Linked DNA regions of Homo sapiens: region 2 is linked to region 1. The links are contacts of gene promoters, found by promoter capture Hi-C in blood cells and fetal thymus (Javierre and others, 2016). All regions are on one chromosome and are shown on one strand. Each heading gives the region's core, a stretch centred on a gene start or on the middle of the fragment in contact. The rest is flanking DNA. Distances are from core to core; before and after follow the strand shown.

Region 1 (6,036 bases), core at 1,191-3,690:
CGTGTCACACAGTCTGCATGGGGCAGAACTGCTCTCAGAGCCCAGGCCTGCCCAGTTCTTCCTCTGTCACACTACACTGCCTCTTGCTGCCCCTGCCACACTGCAGCAGGAGTCCCAGCTTACCTTCTCCCAGACCAGAGTGAGAGGTCTGACCCAGGCCCAATGCGTCAACCTGATCTCTCTACTTGCCGTCTGAATGATCTTGCTATTTCAACACCGTGTCTCAGTTTCCTCATTTGTAAAATGGGCTAATACTAGTATCTGATTATTGTGAGGACTTAAAAGCAGAACTATGGCACACAGCAAGTGCTCAATAAACATTCAATGTGTTCTCAGAGCCTAGCCATAGTGCTCACAACAGAGTGGACACTCAGAGAAAGTTTGTTGAAGGAAGGAAGAATTGGAAATAACGGTAGAATGAGCCTGAAAATAGGAAACATTGGGATAGGAAAACCTGAGGGTCTAATAAAGAGTCATGGGGAGCTGGGTGCAGCAGCACATGCCTGGTGTCCCAGTTACTTGAGAGGCTGAGGCAGAATGATCACCTGAGTCCAGGAATCCAGCCTGGACAACATAGTGAGACCCCCATCTCAAAAAAAAATAAAAATAAAAGAGAGAGAAGAGAGAGACCAGAGCAAAAGAGAAAGATGTGACAACAGTTCATTCAATAACATTTATTGAGCACCTACTGTGTGCATGCAGATGTGACAGCAACAGTGTCCCAGACCAAAACAACCTGTGGACAACTAAGTAGGTCTGACTCCAGAGATGAACAGCACACACCAGAGCCTGGAGGAAGAGGCAAAGAAGGAATGGGAACTGGAGCAAACAGCAAAAGTGAGTCAGAGCGGGAGGAGAGAACCAAAAGTGAAGAGATGCACCTGGAAGGCTGGCCTCTGGTCTCTGAAAGCATGAAAGAGTGGAGGCTAAGAATAGAGAGGAGAGGGGAAGAGAGAGATGGAGAAAAGGAAGGCGATAGAAAGGCAAGGCTGGAAGAGATCAATGAAGGGAAATAAACCAAGAGAAGGACGTAGGGGAGGGAACAGACTGGCACAGTGGAGAATACATCTCAAAATAAATAAATGAATGATGGAGTTTAGTAGGAGGGGCCAGAGGGGCAGCCAGCAGGAGAGGTGATTCCAATCATCAGCAAGACGGACTAGGGTGTGGAGATGGAGATGGAAATTGGGGAAGGAGGCGAGGAGGAGAGAAGGATAGGGGCGAGGTAGAGCTGGGGGTCCTGGAGGGCCCTGCCCCCTCTTTGCCATGAACTTCAGCAGCTGCTTGTGGGTGATTAAATGGCTGGTCATTGGCAGCTTGGCGGGACAGAGGTCTGCAGCTGTCCAGTCTCCTGTTATCCTTCACTCACCTATCTGGAAGCCATGGGGAATAGGGGGGCGGGCAACTCCTAAGGGGACCTACAACCCAAGACAAAGGGTGGGTCTATGGGAGTCACTGGTCCTATCCTACCATCAACGACCTCATATTGGGAACTCAGGAGTGGGGTGGGAGGGTCTCCTCCATTAGGCCTCATCCCAGAGAGATGAAGTAGTAAGGAGAGCCAGGCAGCCAGGAGAAAGAAACAGGGCCAGGTGGAAAAAACATCAGGGAGCAGACCAGCCGGATTTTTAAAAGAACGGAAAACCCAACCAGCAAGGAGTTTCTGGGCAGTGGGAAGATTTTATTGGGAGACTTCTCCAGGTCAAGGTGGCACCAAGTTAAGGATGGAGGTGTCTTGTTTTGCCTGCTTACTTTGTTGGTTGCAAGGATGTCCAGCGGGACTCTCCAGAGGAAAAGCCCACAAGTTTCTCTCCCGGGGACACCCGACCTCCCACCTGCCTGGAGACTCAGCCCTGGGCACCTGGTCGGTGTCCACCTCAATGCACAGTGACTGTTTCTGAACTGGCAGATCTGGTCTGTGCAAGGTGCCTTTCTGGGCAGCAAGCCGGGGCGGCCACTGTTCGAGAAGCCTGCTCCTACCCTGGCCTGCGCCCCTGCTCCTCTGAAGGCGGCCTCCCGCAGTAGTCAGGGGGCGGAAATGGGAAGCCCTATTCGCAGTAAAATCAGGTGGGGAAATAGGCTCTGGTCTCAAACTGCGGCCACCTGGGGAGCTGCCAGGCGAGGAGGTAGATGGTCCCCCTCCTGGGGGCGCTCCCTTCGCGCGGATCTGGGGTTGGAGGAGGGAGGGGCACTGTCCCCTGGGGGGTTTCCTGGGACTGGGCCGCCCGAGAGAGGGAAAGGCTGTCCCCTCCTGGTGTAGGAGGGGCGCGATCCGGGGGGCGGGGGCTGGGGTTCCCCGGCTGCGGGGGTCCGGGCCGGCGGCCGCCTGCGGCTTGGCGCTGCGCGGCTCCTGCCCGGCGGGCCCTGCATTCTCCGAGTCTCCACCAGAGGCTGCGGGAGGAAGGAAGGGATCCGTCCCTTGCACACTTCCCCCCAGTCAGACACGCACACTCCCTCGCTCCCGCTCGCTCGCTCACTCCCTCGCTCTCTCGCTCTCTCGCTCTCTCGCTCACACACACGCGCGCACACGCCGCCGCGGCTCCCCCTCTCGCTCCCGCTCTCCCTCCGGCTCCTGCGGGCGGCCGCGGGGCTCCGGACTCGCCCGCTGCCCGCGCCGGGGCTCCCGCCCCACGCAGCGTCCCGAGGCGGCAGGACTAGGGGGAGCCCCGGGCCGCTCCCCGAGGTAAGAGCGCGGGGTGCCGCGGGAGGAGCGGCCGGATCGCCGCCGAGGGGAGGCTGCCCGGCAGGGAGGGAGCCCCCTGGCCGGCGGGAGCGGCCGGGCAGGCGGCGCGGGGGGCGAGCCTCCAGCCGCAGGAGGAGCCGGGGTGCCTGCGCCCGGCCCTGCGCGCCCCCTCCTCTCGGCCGGGAGGGCGGGGAGGGAGTTTCCCACGTCCAAACTTTCCCCGGCGCGGAGCCGAGCCGCCTCTCGGCCCGAAGCCCGCAGCTCCCACCCGTCCCCACAACCTCGTCCGCCGCGCGCCCGGGAGCCTCCGGGACCCCCGCGGGCCGAGGGGTGGCAGCGCCAGGGGCCGAGCCGGCGCGCCAAAAGGGGCTGGGAAGGTGGCGCACAGCCCTGACGCGAGGGCTGGGACCCAGGCGTTCCCGGTCCCCCAACCCTGCTAGCGGGGCTCGGCTCCCCGGCCCCTCCCAGAGGCGGGGTCCGGGGCCGGGAAAATACCGCACGGCGCGAGCGTGTGCGCGCGGTGTGTGTGTGCGAGGTCGTGCCGCGTCCGGGGACACCCGGAGGCTGACTCCAGCCGCGGCGACACGCACGGTTCTGGTCCCCTCTGAGCCGGGGAGGCGGCCCACAGGGACCCCTGCCGGCCCCACCGGCGCGACCCCCCCTGCCCTATGGCCGTCGGGCGGGCTGGCGGTGAGCGAGAGCCAGCGCTGCTCTCTTCCTTAGGACCCGACTCCGGAGACACCGTCCCCGCTGGGGAAGAAGGACGGGGCCCCCGACAGCCTAACGTCCAAAGAGAGCGCCACTTAGGGCTAACCCTCGGGGGCCGCGGCGTTTACTGTGAAGAGTGGACTGCGTGGGCGCGCGGGGTGCCGGGCAGCCCTGGGTGGGCACAGTGTGGACCCGTCTCGCTCGCGCCTCCCCGCTGCCTCTTCTCTGGCAACGTCGGGCCCTGTCCCAGGCGGGGCTGCAGAGGGTAGGGCTGATCCAGGATCCCCCGAGGTCTCCCCGAGGTGCAGGGCACCCCCTTGTGGCGGGCAGAGAAGCTGCTGTTTGAAGCTGCTCAGGTCTTCCGAGGTGCTCGCTCCTTGGAACCTCTTCTCTCCAAACCCTTCGGGCGTCGCCAGGGTTGCGCATGCCAGCTTCTTTTTCCGTGGGGCTGATTCCAGCACTCCCCAGGTTTCTGGGGCTGGCCGAGGTGCCCCCAGCACAGGCAGCGGCTCATTTGAGGGCTTTGGCTGTTGCCAGCTCTCTCTCCCTCTCCACCCAGGTTCAGGATCTCATCCTCTTCTCCCACTGGTCAGCGCCAATACCCTATATCAGCATCACCACTGCCCTAGGGCCCAAAGGCTCCTCCCTAACCACCGCGACTCTCTGTCCTTCATTTGTATCCCGTATATGTGTCCATCAGTGCCCACTCCGTCCCCCTCAGTTGCCCCTAGTCTACAGCCCTTGTTGAAACTTGGCCTCTACACCCATAGTGACATCCTTTGGTCTTTGCCCACCAATGACCATTTCCTCGTCCCCCCCAACCCCGACCCATCTTCTATCCTGTCTGCCTCAGTTTTTCTGTAGCACTCAACTGTTCCCTGCCCCAGCCATTTCTCTACTTCACCCTTATTTCCCTCCTTGTCCCAGTGTCTGGGACACTCCTCTTCCATTCCTCCTGGAAGGGAAGGGCATTGCCAACATTTAAACACTGCTTCCTGGAGATGTCTGTGTGCCCTTCCCGGTCCACCACTGCCAGTGCCTCGGGGGCAGGTACTTTATAAAGCCAGCCAGGTCTCTCTCAGCTAAGGGGCACCTGTACCTCTTGGGTGGCCCCATCAGGGGACCCCTGGAGACAACCCCTTTCCCTATTCCTAACTGTGAGCAGCACATTGGAGACCACCTGGGCTGCCCTCTTTTCCATTTTCAAGGATTGGCAACAGCAGCCCGAGGTCACATGGTAAGCTATACCCAGAGCCGGAATAGGAACCCAGGCATCTTGACATCCAGGCCTCACCAACGCTGCTTATGTGTTGGGTAGGCCTGGGGCAAAACAGAGCCGTTTCTTGGCTTCACGCTGCAGGCAGGACAAGAAGACACTTGCTCTAAATTCAGCATGAGGTGTTCAAGTTAGACCCCCAGTGCTCCCAGGCCAGTGCCGGAGGAAAGCTGTTGAATGCCTTTAGCAGAGACGCCGAGTAGCAGAAGCAGAGGACAAAGTTTGGCCCCTAAAAGTGTGTTGTGACCTCCGGGTGAGTCACAGCCTTTCTGTCAAAAGGGTGGCTGTGATCTCTGGATGTTTCTGGTCGTGCTCTGGAATAATCATACCTAGAGGTTGGAACCCCCAAAGCCCCTGCTGCTTCCCCAGGCACTGGTCTTTCTGAGAGCTTTGCAGGAGCGCTGCATTCTGAAGTTGTCTGACAGGGGGCCGGGCCATAGCTAAGGCAGGGAGCCCAGGAGGGCCCGTCTCCTCCCGAGTTGGCAAAGTTCGGAGCAGCCAGTTTATTTACCACATGGGCGATAAGAGTCAGCCAATTAAACTTCCTCTCCTCTCTCTCTCTGTTCTTCCCCCTCCCCTTTTTCTTCCATCAGGAAGCTCCAATCTGAAATGCAGCCTCAGGTAGAGTGAGAGAGAGTGAATGATTTCTGTTTATATAACACGGGTAGCAGCTGGCACTGCATGGCCTGGGAGGGAGTGAGGGAATAGAAGACCCTACGGTGGTGTCTGGGCTGAGGCCCCGGGGCCAAGGACTTCCTCATTCCTCCCCATAGCTGAGCCAGGAAGGGTGCTAGGGGCTGGGGACCAGGTGGGGAAACAGGCTGAGAGGAAACCCAGGCCTCAGGTCAGGCTCAGAGAGAAAAGCCTCATGCCCCCCGCAAGAGTGGGCACACCCTCCACCCCGGGTTCCTCAAAGCACCTTTAAGATGGAGCTCTCAACTCAGGCCTCTCCTTCCTACAACCTTGTGTTTTGATTCTGGCCTCTCTAGAGAAAGCCTAGATATTTCACCACGAGGACAGGCTCTGACCTCAACTTTTCATCAGGGCAGTGGGCATGATAGGACTGTCTTTCCGCCCATGGAGGAGACAAGGCCTAACAAGAAAGTTGTCTGTGGAGTGATTTGAGCTCTGTGTATCTGGCAGGAGGGACGTTTTCTCATTGTTGATGATACACAGTGGCTGCTTGGAAACAGAGGTGCAGGACAGGAAGGCTGGAGGCATGGCTGTTATATGCAGTTGGGCAGGTTGTTGACTGTCCAAGGGCATTTAATGCAGGAGGAGAGCGGGGACTGAAATCTATTTTAAGCTCCACTCTCCAAGTCAGGTGCCCCAAAGACAGGCTGTGCCTGCCTGGAGGAGGGGGCATCTT
Region 2 (6,430 bases), core at 3,361-5,860, 400 kb before region 1:
TGAGAGTCGGACCGGGTGTGTTTGCTCACCAGGGGTGCCAAGCTGGTGTTTTACTTGCCTGGAGCCACTGGGGGCCATCTTCCCCAATGAAGGATTCCTGACAACACTGTATGAGCCCCTAGATCCAACTGCACCTGAAGCCATAGACTTCAGTGACCCATAAATACTCATTGCCAATTTCTGGATTTTCTGAAGGTTGGCCTGTCATTTTTTTTTTAATCTCAGTACCCAAGTACCCTTCCTATCAGCAGACAGTGATGTTTGCTTAGTGCCTTTCAGTGGAAAAGTTTGAGGGAGTTCCTGACCAATTCCCATGCATCTTCCTCAACTCTCCACTGTACTCTTTTTCCTTCACACTGCAAGTTCCTTTATGAGTCTTCCATATTCAACTAAGGAGGGCAGGGATAGAGACTGACTCGTCCTGAGCCTCCGGGGCCCCAGCCCTGCCCTGACACCCAAGAGGAACCCAGTGAAGTTTCTGCTGAATGAACAAATGACTGGGTAGAGGACCAGGGCTATTTCACCTCATGACATTTCTAGGGCTGTGTCAGATACCTCTGAACCTAAACTAATTCTACACAGCAGCCAGAAGGATTCTGGGAAAACCTAAGTCAGGCCTCGTCACTCTTCCACTAGGAGCCCTCCAAGGCTCCTATTTCAGTCTAAGAAAAGCCAACGTCCTCACCGTGGCCTTCAAGACTCTGCAGGATCTGCCCCCTCTCACTGGGCTCCAGTCACACTGGTTCCTTGCTGCTACTCTCACTCCAAGCACGTCCCAACTCAAAGCTTGGTACCTGCCAGCCTCTCTGCCTGGGAAGTCCTGTCCCTCCATGCCAACAGTTCCTTCCTTCCTCCCTTCTGATCTTTGCTGAAACATCCCCTTCTCGGTGAGGCTGTCCCTGGCCTTCTACCTAAAATTCAACCTCCCTGTAGCATCTAGCACTTTGTATTCCCTTCTCCACTTGTTTTTTCTGCGTGGCACTTCTCATCTTCCAAAATAACTACATATTTTACATATTTATTGGTCTCCCTGACCTGAAAGTCAGCCTCAAGGGAACAGGAGTGGTTTGTTTCTTCTCAGCTGTCTCCCTGAGGCCAAGGACAGTTACTCAGCACTCAATCAATAATATTTGTTAAACAAATGAATGATTGAGTGAATGAATGAAAAACCAAATGAACTGTGGGGATGTAGGAAATCCAGAAAGAAAGGATCTTGGCTCATGAACATCTGAAAGGTCCAGGGCCTGGAAGTGGCCATGGACAGGAAGCAGAGCAAAGCCTCGTCCTCAAATTAAGATGTCTTAGGCTGGGCTCGGTGGCTCATGCCTATAATCCCAATACTTTGGGAGGCTAAGGCAAGTGGATCACTTGAGTTCATGAGTTCAAGATCAGCCTGGGTAACACGGTGAAACCCCATCTCTACCAAAAAATACAAAAATGAGCCAGGAATAGTGGTGTGCACCTGTAATTCCAGCTACTTGGGAGGCTGAGGTGGGAGGATGGCTTGAGCCTGGGAGGCAGAGGTTGCAGTGAGCCGAGACTGTACCACTGCACTCTAGCCTAGATGACAGAGCCAGACTTTGTCAAAAAAAAAAAAAAAAAAAAAAGAAAGAAAGAAGACAGAAAGAAAGAAAGAGAAAAAAAGAAAAGAAAGAAAATTAAGGAGAACACATTAAGACGGCTTGACCTAAGTTTAGCAAGTGTGCATCCTTTCTATTAATAACCTGCCTAACATAGGCTGTAGTGAAGATGTCCCACACTGGAGGAAATCCCTTAATCCTCTAAGCCCCTCGCTGTGGAGGGCACAGCTTCCCCGGGACAGGGTCAGGGGGCAGGGGGAGGGGGGAGAACCCTGGTTTGGGATGCAAGTATCTCCAGCTGCAAGTCCTAGGCCTCCCGTTGGTGACACTAGAGTAGTGTCTCAACCAGAGGTCACAGAGCACTGGGTCCCTCCTGCACCAGAGACCTGCTGTGGCTTTCCCTGAAGCTCCAGGGAGAAGCCAGATGTGAAATTGAACTGTATGAATATCCTCTTGCAGATGGCCGGCTTCCAAATGTCCCAGCAATTGCAGCCACAGCTGATACTTGGAGTACCCACTATAGCCAGCCACTCTCCTAAGGGGCAGTATCTGTACCAGCTGGCTTAATCCCTAGACAATCCTATGACAATCACTATTGTCATTCCCATTTTACAGAAATAACCACCACACTGAGAGGTGAAGACATTTCCCCAAGGTGGCACAGTTTGTAAGTCACATAGCAGGAACTTGAACTCGGGCAGTCTGACTCCAGAATCCCAATATTGGGTGCAATATAAAATAAAAACTCACATTCACTCACCATTTACCAGATATAGGTGATGAGCCGAGCACTGTAATTCATTTTTTCACATCATTCTCATGGCTACCCTGTGATAAGGGTATTTGATAGTGACCAGAGAAGTTGGCAGACTCTCCCAGGTCAAAGTGGAATGGTGGAACAAAGTGAGAGGAATTGGGTCTAGAACCCAGTTCTGCCCCCAGAGGCTATAAAGAGAGCCCAATCCCTGGTCCCTGCTGTGTAAGAATTCTGGGGAGGACAGAGACCCGCAGCCATGACTTATGCCTCCCCCAGCACTAACACCCAGCCCTCGCTCTGCCCATAGAAGGCACTCAGCAAATGGCTGTTGGGTTGATTTAGCAGGAATAGGAGGTGCAGGAACAAGGGGCTAGGGCTAAGCTGAGTGTCCTTAAGAAGACCTTGACCTCTCTGGGCCTCATTTTTTTCTCAGGCTCTGGGGCACTGTGCTGTGGGGGTTAAGAGGATGGACTCTCCTGTCAGAGCCGGAACTGGTCACCAGTTTTACCATTAATCCACCATGACAGGCCACGTGGTGCAGTGGTTAGGAATGCAGACTGGAGTCAGAATGCTGGGGCTCCTTCCCAGCTTCTCCTCTCCATAGCTGTGTGACCTTGGGGAACTCACCTCACCTCTCTGGGCTTCCCCATCTACAAATGGGATATTAATGCCTACCTTCTATGCTTACCTACATCATAGCCAGTGTTAGCGACTGTGATTCTCCACAGAACGACTCAGAGCAAACTTTGAGAAGTTAATTCAGGGCCGGGCGCGGAGGCTCACGCCTGTAATCCCAAGCCGAGGCAGCCGGATCACGAGGTCAGGAGATCAAGACATCCTGGCCAACATGGTGAAACCCACTCTCTACTAAAAATACAAAAATTAGCTGGGCGTGGTGGTGTATGCCTGTAATCCCAGCTACTTGGGAGGCTGAGGCAGGAGAATTGCTTGAACCAGGGAGCTGGAGGTTGCAGTGAGCGGGATCACGCCACTGCACTCCAGCCTGGCGACAGAGTGATCATCTCAAAAAAAAGAAAAAAAAAAGAAAAGATAATTCAGGTCACGGCCCCGCTCCAGCTTAAAACCCTTCTCCAGCTTGCCGTGGCATTTGCAATAAAATCTGAACTTCTCACCACGGCTTACAAAGCCCTGCACACCTCTCTGCCATCCCTTTGACCTCAGTGCCCTGCCCGCTGTGCTCTGGCCATCCTGGCCTGGGCCACACAAACTCATTCCTGCCTGAGGGCCTTTGCACTGTTGCTGCCACCTGGAAGCTCTTTCTCCAGATCTCAGCAAGACCCGCTTCTGAGGAAGTTCTCAGCTCCAAAACGTCCTACTCCAGAAAACCCACCCTGACCACCTACCCAAGGAACCCACGCCCTTGGCCTTCACGCCACCCCATTTTATGGGTTCCACAACACCTTATCTCTCTCTGAAGTTATTCATAAACGTGTTTACCCAGCTGCTCAATCAGAATGCCACCTCCATGAGAGAGAGGTTTATTGTCTATTTTGTTCATTGCTGAAGCTCTAACCCCTATATCAATGTCTGGCACGTAGTAGGTGCTCACTCAAGAATCAACGACTGATCCTTCGAGGCTTCTGAATGCAGAGAGAAAAATAGAGCCCTAGTCCCGAGTGGCAACAAAGCCATTCCCCACGCGTCCCACCCCAATGCTGTGTTAGAATCTCCTTCTCTGTCCCCTCTCTGCAGAATCACGTCCAGAGGAGGGGGTTCGTCTGTTTTGTTCGCAGTTTCGTTCGCGACAGCGTCCCCAGGCCCACAACAGCGCCTGGGGCACAACCGCGCTCAGCGAATCGATGAACTGCTTTGCTTCTTTCGGAGCCTCCATTTCTTCATCTGCAGACCAGGAACAGCTGCACTTGCCTGGGGCTGTCGGATCAGGGCGCCCGGGAGAGTGCCTGGGCCCGAGTGGGCGCTGCAGCAAGTGAGGGGCCACTTTTCCGGGGCAGAAAGGAAGATGGAAGGAAGCGCGACCGAGCCCCGTCCCAGCCCCCGCCGCAGGCCTGCAGTCTCGGGCTGGCCACCCGAGAGGCGGTATCCGGCCGGGGCGGCCCTGGGGGAGCCAGGGGGCGCGCACTCTTAGGGGAGCGTGGGGGCGGTGTCTACACCCTGGGAAGGGGTCGGGCTTCCAGCAGGCAGCGCCCGATCGGGACTTACCCATGGCGAGCGGGACTCGGCGGCGTGCTGGGGGCGCTGAGGGGCCGGGCGCGCATCCCCCGCCGGAGTCCCCAACGCCGCTGCCGCCGGACAAACTTTCCGGCCCGCCCCCGCCTCTGTCCCTCCTGCCCTGCCCTCCCGCGCGCAGCGCCGCCAACGCCACGTCGGCCAGCCAGGCCCCGAGGCCTGGAGGCGGGACGGAGGGGAGCCCAGGACCGCCCCCGGCCGCCCCAGGCCTGGCAAGGACCCCCTCCCTCGCCCACTGTCCTCCCGGGGGCCCCCACCCGCCATCTCCCGGGTCCCCTTCGTTGGTAGTCCTCCCCTGGGGGGGACACACCAGCAAGCCATCCTCCCTGGTAGAAGACCCCACACGCACTGTCTTCCCCTGGCCTCTTTGCAGGGAAGAGGTGCCCCAATCACTGGTCCACACTTGTCTGGCCTCCCCAGCGTGCGCACACACACAACACACACAACACACACATCTACACCGAGTGAGACACTCGCGCATACCCACTGGAGCCGCTCACTCTCTCATGGATTCATCCCTCATTCACTCCACGCTTGGGTTTGGACACCACCACATACCAGGCACTACGCTAGGCTTGGGATGGGCCGAAGAACAAAACAGAACAGGTCTTTTGTTTACCTTCTAGGAGGGGAAGAGTTTACATTCTAGGAGGGGAAGACGAAAAAGAAGTAACTAAAGGATCCTGAGAAATATCAGCTAGTGATAAAGACTAGGCAGAAAGTTAAACTACGGTGGTGGGTTAGGCAGACACAGGTGGCTGCTTTAGCTTGCTGATCTGAGAAGAGGATATCTGAGCAGAGATCCGGCATTCCCCGCAGGGGGAACAGCAAAGGCAAAGGCCCCGGGGTGGGAAGGAGCTTATGGGGTACAAAAAACGCAGAAATGAAGCCAGAGTGTCTGGAGCAGAGGAGAAGACAGGGAGAGAGGAGGGAGATGGGAGCTAAGGGAGGGGCTTTGGTGGGCCAGGGTCAGGAATGTAGATTTCAACCCCATCAGCAGGACAGATAACTGGGGAGTTCTAACTGGTTAAGGGCCAGAATACTCAGCCTTCCCACCTGGGAGGCTGTTGCAAGGTGAGAAGTTGGTTTGGGCTCATGTCACTGTGGTGAGGTTGGAGAAAAGTAGGCAGATCACATATATATGCTCCGTAAGAACTTACAGACTGGAAGAGGGGCAGCTTGTGGCTGGGAAAGGAGATCCAGAGTTCTGTCTTGGCTGTGTGACATTTGAGGTGCTCAGCAGGCATCCACGTGGAAATAGGTGGGCAGTTGGCTATGAGCCTGGGATTCAGGAAAGGGGTAGGCTGGGGACACTGCCACTAATGCTCACTCAGGCAAAAATGCACGTACAAGCCCAGCACTCACATGGGCGCAGCCTTATCCAGCCTCTCAATACGTGTTCACAGATAGGCACCTTTGCATGTGCACCAGTGGCTGTACCCTCACCAGTCAAAGTCACAGCGACCCCTACCGTACAGGTGGATACACAGGCATTCTTCCATGCTGAAGGCACAAGCAGGTATCTCAGCAAAGATGACAGCATCCATAAGACCTCTGAACCAGGGGATCCTTGCACAGTTTCAAAAATAATAATAGCTGGGGCAGTTTGAAAACATGGCTCCAGAATTCGTTGTTCCTTCCCTTGAAATAAAAGTGGGCTTGTGACTGGTTTGATCAGTAGCCTGCAGAGTGACACTGTGTAACTTCTGAGGCTGGGTCACTGGAATACTGGTGCCTGGATCCCTGAGCCTTCATATAAAAAGTCTGATTACACTGAGACCCTCCTGGTATTCGTGGCCTAGTGGCATCCTCTTCTCTTCTAGATGTCACTAGAAGTATCACTTAGCAACGTCTAATGAATAGAAGACGGCAAATATGGTGGATG

The links. The method cuts DNA at HindIII sites, captures the fragments that hold promoters and counts their contacts. A CHiCAGO score of 5 or more calls a contact.
Region 2: a contact is called between the fragment with the promoter of SLC2A10 here and the fragment with the promoter of CDH22 in region 1, in 1 of 17 cell types (M0 macrophages). The highest score is 5.3, in M0 macrophages.

What each region holds. Positions count from the first base shown.
Region 1 is chr20:46,304,902-46,310,937 of GRCh38, reverse strand. It overlaps CDH22 (cadherin 22), which reads left to right and starts at 2,440. Exons shown (of 12, transcript NM_021248.3): 1 at 2,440-2,683. The HindIII fragment of the contact is 22,305 bases long and covers 1-6,036 here.
Region 2 is chr20:46,707,829-46,714,258 of GRCh38, reverse strand. It overlaps SLC2A10 (solute carrier family 2 member 10), which reads right to left and starts at 4,610. Exons shown (of 5, transcript NM_030777.4): 1 at 4,519-4,610. The coding sequence starts at 4,522. The HindIII fragment of the contact is 5,872 bases long and covers 789-6,430 here.